Linked DNA regions of Homo sapiens: region 2 is linked to region 1. Evidence: promoter capture Hi-C in 16 types of primary human blood cells and fetal thymus (Javierre and others, 2016). All regions are on one chromosome and are shown on one strand. The core of a region is centred on a gene start or on the middle of the fragment in contact, and the rest is flanking DNA. Distances in the headings are between cores, read along the strand shown. Region 1 holds the start of FBXW11 (F-box and WD repeat domain containing 11). Region 2 holds the start of SH3PXD2B (SH3 and PX domains 2B).

Evidence for each region. The method cuts DNA at HindIII sites, captures the fragments that hold promoters and counts their contacts. A CHiCAGO score of 5 or more calls a contact.
Region 2: the fragment with the promoter of SH3PXD2B here is called in contact with the fragment with the promoter of FBXW11 in region 1 in 1 of 17 cell types (erythroblasts); the score reaches 5.0 in erythroblasts.

Annotation. Positions count from the first base shown.
Region 1 is chr5:172,005,183-172,009,283 of GRCh38, forward strand. It overlaps FBXW11 (F-box and WD repeat domain containing 11), which reads right to left and starts at 1,456. Exons shown (of 14, transcript NM_001378974.1): 1 at 1,276-1,456. The coding sequence starts at 1,320. RefSeq lists enhancers at 621-740, 1,340-1,967, 1,511-1,780, 3,223-3,850 and silencers at 1,081-1,190, 1,201-1,480. The HindIII fragment of the contact is 14,963 bases long and covers 362-4,101 here.
Region 2 is chr5:172,451,911-172,456,037 of GRCh38, forward strand. It overlaps SH3PXD2B (SH3 and PX domains 2B), which reads right to left and starts at 2,615. Exons shown (of 13, transcript NM_001017995.3): 1 at 2,368-2,615. The coding sequence starts at 2,442. RefSeq lists an enhancer at 1,581-2,102. The HindIII fragment of the contact is 9,231 bases long and covers 459-4,127 here.

The sequences.
Region 1 (4,101 bases), core at 206-2,705:
CTCAATAAACATTTTCACACTGAAGAAAATCTGGCTAGGAAAACATTTTGCTGGGTTAAGTAGATTCTTCCACCTCTCCTCTCAACCCTGGGGAAGAAGTTGTTACCGTGTTAGGAAAGATACAAAGAAACTGTCAAGGCTTCCATAGGAAGAAATCCTGGACATGTCCATTTGCTGATGCAGACTTCCTCTTCCCAGCTCTCCAGAGCCCAATTTGATTTCCCTCATGTTCACGTTGGCAGGTAATATCTGCCATATTTTATTTCTTCCACCAAATCATCCATCAATTAGCAAATTCTTCACTTCTAGCCACTCTCTCACTGTCCTGTTCCTAAAAACCCCTTCTGGTTTCAAATCCTAAAGCTTCGGAGGAGGGTGGAGGGTGTCCACGGACCGGGAGTCTGGCCTGGCTGCCAGTGGTTTCTAACAGAAGAGTGGTCGCTTCCCCCGGGGGCCAAGGATTCCCCTCTTTTTTTTTTCTTTCTGAGAAGAAAGACCTCGCGGCAGTGATGAGGATGGCTCCCTCCCCAGTCATCTCCAATTTCCCAAAGCAGCTCTGGAAAACGTGAAGTTGCGCCTTCTCTTTCCTGGAGGATGGAATCCAGAGTACCTGGGCCCTTGCTATGCAAACATCCCTCTCCGCCGGGTAGGAAACCCTTTGTCCGAGAAGCCGGACACCACAAGGGCCCGGGAAAGAGGCCTCCTTATCCGCCACAGCCTCAAACCCGAAAGCTCCCTGCCCCCCCAGCTCTGTAGGGCCTATCCTGGCATCCACACAGACCTAGGCTGGGGAGTGGGTGCTGAGACCTCTCCTAGGACGCGGAGGCCCAGGCGGCCCCAACCCATCTCCGTACTCCTTCCCACCATCTCACTCGGCCTGAGTGGGGCTTGCAAGCGCGGTGCGGGCCTGGGCCGAAACAGAGGAAAGAAAAAAAAATCCCTTTCTAAAAGAAGGAGAATGGGGTGCTAGAGCGAGTGCGACCTAAGTCTACAGCATAAACGAGCGAGGGTCGTCCGAGAGCTGGGACCGGAGACGGGACCAGGGGGAGGGGGAGAAGCGAGGGGCATGGAGGGGGCCGGGCCAGGACCGGCCGGAGATGTCGAGGGATCAGAGGAGCCCGCGCCAGGTCCGAGGCCAGGGAAGGCTGGGGGCCCGGGTCTGGGTCGAGGCGTCTGGGAAGGGCCAGAGCCGGCCTCGCACCGGACGTTGAGGTGGGCAGGCCCGCCCGGGGCCGGACGGACGGAAGCACAGACGGTCCAGCGGGCCGCACTCACCATGAGCTCGATGGTCTTGTCCTCAATCACCGAGTCGGGCTCCATGGCGGCCCCGGCGGCCCCGCCTCGCTCTCCCCGCGCAGCAGCGAACGGCCCGGGCGGAGGAGGCGACGGCGGAGGCGGCAGAGGCGGAGGCGGCTATCGCACCCACTCTAGCTGCCAGCCCGCCCGGGCCGCCGGCAGCTCCGCCCTCCCCCTCGGCGAACGCAGTACGCAGATCGGGGACTACACCTCCCAGCAGGCGCCGCGGCCCGCAGAGCGTTGTGGGACCGAGCCTCTGACACCAGGTTGCTGGCTCTTGGCAGCCCGAAGCTGAACTCCGAGCTGAGAGTAGCACTGGACGGTGGGCGTAGGACGTGCAGACCTGAAGAGTTAAGAGCTTGCTCATGGCAGGGCCTCGAGAGCGCCACGACTACGTGTCCCAGAAAGCCGTGCGCCCGGGTTGTCCTTCCGGCTAGCTTCTCTTGACTTCCTGGCAGCCCAAGGCTGCCCAGACCGGGACGGAAACTCCGAGGCAACTCCTCACTTGTCGGAGGTCCTGCGTATGCGACCCATTTCCGCACATGCGCGGTCCATGCCGCAGTGCTCCCTAGACGCCTAGGTAGCTGCGCGGCCCGTCCGGCAGTGTCTGATGGTAGGGGCAGATGGTGGAGACAGGTGGGTTCTAGGTGCGTTAGGAAGGTGTATAGACCTGGGGCTCAGGTGTGGGAAGGGGCCAGCGAGTGAGAGAAGCTCGGCCTGGGGAAGAGGCTCTGAGAGGATGGGCATCCCAGGAGTGAGAGTTTCGAGATTTCTTCGGGAAAGACGGGGTTTTGGGAAATGTGCTGTGGTGCTGTCTGTATGTCACACGATCTGCGAGGAGCTGCGAGATTAAAGGGGACGTGCGTATATCGAGCCCCTCATTCATTCGTTCAGAAAATGGTTATTTTTTAAGCATCCAGCTTCCGCTGCGTACCGTTCTAGGCGCTGAGAATCAGCTCTGAACATGACAGACAAGGCTCCTGTTCTCATGGAGCTTAATTCTGGTGGAGGGACGACAGACACTAACCAAAAGAGTGGCTAAGAAGGAACACACAAGCGGAGACTCCTTCTAGTGAACTCAGCCTCCAACTCTGTGTAACTTAGGTCTGTCCGTGCCCTCTAACCAAATCCCACCAGGAAGACACGGATCGTTGAACAAGCTGGGTTTATTACTAGTTGCAGTGACTGAGAACACACATTGAGGAACGATAGGGCCTCTCGGTAAGAGTTGTTAGTGATTTGGGAGAGGGTTTAAGGAAGTGAGAGCTTCACTGGATTAGATACTGTCAGGAAGAGAGGGTCGTTCCATGATTGAGCATCTCAGTTCATCTTATCTAGAGGAAGGGAATTCTAGATTGAGGCTAAAGCTGTGCAGATAAAGAAACAGCAGCCTGGCCGGGCGCAGTGGCTCACGCCTGTAATCCCAGCACTTTGGTAAACCGAGGCAGGCGAATTGCTTGAGCGCAGGAGTTCCAGACCAGCCTGGGCAACATGGCGAAACTCTTCTCTACAAAAAATACAAAAATGAACCGGGCCTGGTGGTGCGCGCCTGTCATCTCAGTTACTTGGGAGGCAGAGGTGGGACGATCGCTTGAGCCCAGGAAGTGGAGGTTTCAGTGAATGGAGATCGCACCACTCCACTGTACCCTGAGTGATAGAGCCAGACCTTGTCTCAAAAACGAAAAAAAAAAAAAAAAGTGCAGCAGCAGCTCCCTCATATTAGCCAAGTGGGGATGTTGAGTCATTTTTTGTGGTTTGGACAATCATCAGGTTTTATCTTTTTATCGTGTTTAGACCTGATTATAGAGTGGTCTTGTATTTGTCTGGATCTATCATGGTCACAGAATGACCTCGTCTGATGTTGATGTTCTTTGGAATTGTTTTTGTTCTACAGGAAAACACAAAGCCTAGCTATAAGGGCCAGGCTGTGGTCTAGTAACATCATGGCATGGCTGATTGTACCAGGCCAGCTTCCAGATATCAGAGGCTGCTTTTCACTTTCTCAAAGTGTTTTTGCATTCTCTGCACCTATAAAGTCAAAGAGGCTGGATGACCTAGAAATCTTTCCATTACCAAGGACCAAGTTACAGTAATTTGCATGCATTCAGGACACAGTATAAGTTCCCTGCAGGTAGACTTTGAAGTTTCATAGTCCTTACCTGGTGCTTTTCACCAAGGGAATTGAAAGAAAAGCAATAGGAAGAGCACAGAATTGGAAAGTTCTTACCACTGTCATGCTATCTGAATTTCACCAGGTCCGTTCCACTATGGCCCTTAGGACATTCATTAGTAAAACAAAGGGATTAGATATGACCTCTATTTCAGTTACCTGTTGCAACACAACAAACCTCCGAAGACTTAGTAGCTTAGAATAACAATGGTTTATTATGATTTTACAATTGTGTGGGCTGACCCGGGCTCAGCCGGGGCCCACATGCAATCAGCTGGGAACTCATTCAAAATGACTTTTCATCTTCTAGGGCCTCTCCTCCCTGTGGCTTTTTATCATTCAAACGTCTGCATAGTGACTTGAGAAAGGACAAGCCCCAGTGAACAAATGCTTATCAAACCTCTGGTATGCACCACACTTGGTAATGTCCCGTTGGCCAAAACTAGTAGTATGGCCACACCCATAGTCAGTGTGGGAAAGGATTGTACAGGGGCATAAAAACAGGCATGGGGTAGGAGTCACAAGCTGGATGTGACCCTCCCCCCGCCGACCCGGCACATACATATGTTTGTCCTATACCGTCTTTTTTACTGTTTTTAAAATTTGATGTTCAGGTTTTCAAAATCTGAATTTCC
Region 2 (4,127 bases), core at 1,365-3,864, 450 kb after region 1:
CCTCCTCATCTGATGAACCCAGAAGCCTGGGCTAGAAGGGAGAGGGCCTCTTGAATCACATGAGTGACTAAAGCCACATGCAGAAAAACAAGTTCTTGATGAATCCCCCTACCATGTGACTTTGGCATGTTCCCAATCAGTGACAAGATACCTCAGGACAGGCAGGCAGGGAGCTATGCCTTTAGGGCATTTAGGAATGCCCTAAGGCAGCCTGTCATGCGGCTGCTACCTCTAGGAAATGGACACCACCATCCCCATTACACAGATGAAAAAACTGAGGCTGAGGTGACACAGCTACAACCTGGGAGGCCAAGATCTGAATCCCAATCTATGTTTTAACATAGAAACTTGTCTCAGGGGGCCCCCAAAAAGTGGCTGAAAGCTTCAAAAGACGGTTCTCAAAGCGCAAAACCTTCAAAAAACTGGCAAGGATGGAGCTGACACAGCAGAGAATGAAAAGCTTCCAGGTTTTCACTAATGATAAGAGAGATTTCCCAGTTTTTCAGAGGACTTTGCTCAGAGAAACTATAGGGGTACCGGATGTGGGAAGTGGTGTGGTCCTTTTGGGGTCCAGCGGGCCTGGATCTACATCCCTGCTTGGCTCTTGACTGTGACCTTAGGCGTGGGACCTCACTTTGCTGAGCCCTGGTTTCCTCATCTGTCAAATGGGCTTAAGGCCCTCTGCCTGATATGGGCGTGATAGGAGAGGCCAGAAGAGGGCGCGTGGACGATGATGGCCGGGCCTCGGTGGCAGTATCTATTCTCGTTTTTGCCAGCTCACAGACCTGGTGGGAGGTGGCATGGAGAATTCCAGACTTCCTCCAGTTGCCATGTTGGTGAAAACTGTCTTCATGCCAAAGAGGCAAACTCACTTACACGCTAACAGGCTCAAACAAGAAACTAAGATTTGGCAGCATTTGAAAACAGTTAACAAAAAATAAAAAAAGGAAGGAAAAAAAAAAGACAATTTAGCTCAGCTCTGGAATCAAGGGAAACTTCACTCTATATAAAGATGCCACAGGTCCAGGAAATAGCTTCCCACCGCCTGGCTAAGGGCTGAATAACTGGCTGCCCAGCCAATAACAATACAGACTCACACAGCACACCCTTTCTTGTGGAGAGCGCGGAGTGGGTTCCCGGCTATCTCCTTTCAGAATTTCACAGGCTATTCACGGAAGGCATGCAGATCTACTTTGTAAGAATTAGTTCTTAAAAAAAAAAGATCTGAAGACGACTTCCAGGGAGGCCAAGGAGCTTAATTTAGCCAGCCAACGCCCTTTTCTATTCATTGTTCTATACTTCTTTGTTAGGATTTTTTCCCTCCCTCTTACTCTTTTTCCCTTCCTGGTTAACTTCTCTGCAGCCAGGCTCCGCCACTGCCCACTTCTCACCGCCAGAGACACTATAGCCCCCTTCCCTGCTGTAATGAGGCCCTCCCCAAGGCCTCATGTGGGCCCATCACCCCACATCCCCTTTATCTCCACCTAGAACCTGCGAGGTGGTCCCAGGGCCTCCTGAATCTGCAGACGTGTCCCCTAGGTTGCTGCGGAAGCCACTTTCCACCTGCAGGTCACCGTCAGCCCCAGGCACCCCTGCTGGAGGGAGGGAAGCCCGAATGCAGCTCTATGTTCCAGGACCTGCAACCTCTGAGCCTCAGCCTTCCTATCTGCAAAACGACGCTACTGTCCCATTTTCTCAAGTCCTTGCCAGCTCCAAACAAGATTCCCATGTTCCAGAGGGAGATGCCAGGAGAAAACTTTCGTACATTTTAAAACAGAAGTTACTGGAGAGAGGGGGCAGGGGATGTTTTTAACCCTTTAAAGGCGTAGCCACTCAAATGATCCATTCCCAGAGATCTCCTCCATCGCCCAGGCCGGCTCTTGCCAAAGAACGGAGTCAAATTCGGCGAACCCTAGAGGGGCTACCTGTGGCTGGGGACTGCGGGTCTGCGCGCCTCTGGACAAGGAGGGGCAAGGCGGGCGGCCTGAGAACAGGCACTTCTGTCTCTCCCGCTTTCTGTCTCAGACCCCTCACCGGCTGGAGCCAGACTTTTCCACAGATGAGCAGGACGGGAGTTGGGGGGACACGGAGAAGACAGAAAGGGGTAGAGGAGCCGCAGGGAGGCGAGTAGGGGGGCGAGGCGGGAGGAAGGGATGGAGGGGGAGAACGAGGCAAAAGCGGGGAGGGGAGGGGAGGGAGGGAGGAGGAGTCGGGAGGGACCCGGGCAGCGCCGCCGCAGAGCCGAGGGGAGAGCAGGGGAGGAGGGGACGGGAAGCGCTGGAGGCAGAAGTTTTCCAAGCCGGGGGCCCTCGGTCGCCCCCGACGGGGCGCGGGCTCAAGGGGGCGTGGGGGCCGCGCCGCACTCACATAATGCTTGTTGGGCACCCGCCGCTTCTGCACGTCTAGCACCTTCACCTCCACGATGCTGCGCCGCGGCGGCATGGCCGCTCCTCCGCCCGCAGCGGGCCGAGCGCGGGTGCGGGTGGCGCGGGGTGCAGGGAGCGCTGGGGGCGCGCCGCCGCGGGCAGGGAACCTGGAGCTGAGCGCAATCGCAGCCGGGGCCGAGCACGAGCCGCCGCCGCCACCGCCGCCGCCCTTCGCTCGGCGCGCACTCCAGCCGGGCCCAGCCGCCGCCGCCCGCCCCCGGCCCGCCCCCCGCACCGCCCCCCGCACCGCCCCCCGCACCGCCCCCCGCGCCGCCGGCCCGCCCCCCTTAAAGGGCCCGGCCCCGACCCCCGCCCACCGCGCGCGAACCCCGCCGGCCACGTCCGGCCCCCGCCCGGCCTTTGTCCCGGTGCTGAGCCGCCGCGCCGGGGGAGGGGACTGGACTGACCCCGTCGCCCGTTCACTGATTGACGTATCGATTCATTCCAGCACTCTCGCTCCGGCAGCCGCCATCCACCGCCAGTTTGGAGAGCCGGACACCCGGGTTCGAATCCCGGCTTTGCCGCTTTTCCACTCTGTGCCCTCGGCAAGTTGCTTAACCTCTCTGGGTTGGGTCTCTTCGTCTATAATATGAGCCTAGTAGTACAAGCACCATGTTTGTCTTTTTGTGTCTGGCTTATTTCACTCGGCATAATGTCCTCAAGGCTCATCCATGTTGTAGCACGTGTCAGTAGTACCGCCTGCCTGCCGGTGCTGCGCCCGGGATTAAGTGCATGTGAAGCCATTCCGCAGTGCAGTCCATGGTATGAGTGCTGGCGTTCCTAAAGCCACCCCAAGCCCTGGTGATTCAGGAGGAGCAAGAGACCCGTGACCAGGTTCCCCCAGCCTCAGTCTGGGACATGGGGAGTGAGGGAGAGAAAAACTGCAACAAATGCGCATACGTGCAATGTAATTGCCATGGAAGCAACAAAAGGGGATAAAAGGGTGGTGACTATGTGTGAGGGGCAGCTGGGTGCTTGTTAGCAAGGCCATCGATTTCCAGTTGCGGAGCACTTAACTGCTCGCTGGGCCCCGTGGCCCCTGCTTTTCACAAATGCTGTCTTTGCATCCTCAGGCAGACTCTAGGAGGAAAAGGTGTTTTTACAGAGGACGGCCTCCAGACATTTGGACATTTCCAATGAGGCCTGAGGACCCTCTGACTTGGGAACTGTACTTCAGAAGAATGTGCCTTACAGGAATTACATCAGTGAAGGTCCAGAGTCAGGGAGCCGGTGGATGGAGCCCGTCACTGCCTGGCTCTAGGTGGATCTCACACGTTGAAGCTGCCGTGGCTGGGGCAGCTCCTCGTTTCTTCATCTAGTGCCTCCTAGCACTGGCTGGGCACTGAGTCACTTTCAGGAGATGTTGGCTGAATGAATGGATAAATGAATATATAATGCATGGATGGGAGGTTTAGGCTCCTGGCCAGTGTTTTCACAGCCAGTAAGTGGGGGCTCTTTTCAACAAACCGTACGACTCTTCTCCATGCCACGACAGAGCTACTTCCCACCCCGGTCCAGGATCAGCCTTTGGAAAAGGGTGGGCTTATCCAGGGTAGGACGGCTCTCAGCCTCGGCCAGGCCACGTGGATGATTTGGGCTGATTCACTTTGGATCCGCCCCTCCATTTGCTCCTCTGACTTCCTTGCCAGACTTTACCATCCTGCTCCAGCCCCAGAGGCTGGCCTGTGTGGATTTCACTGA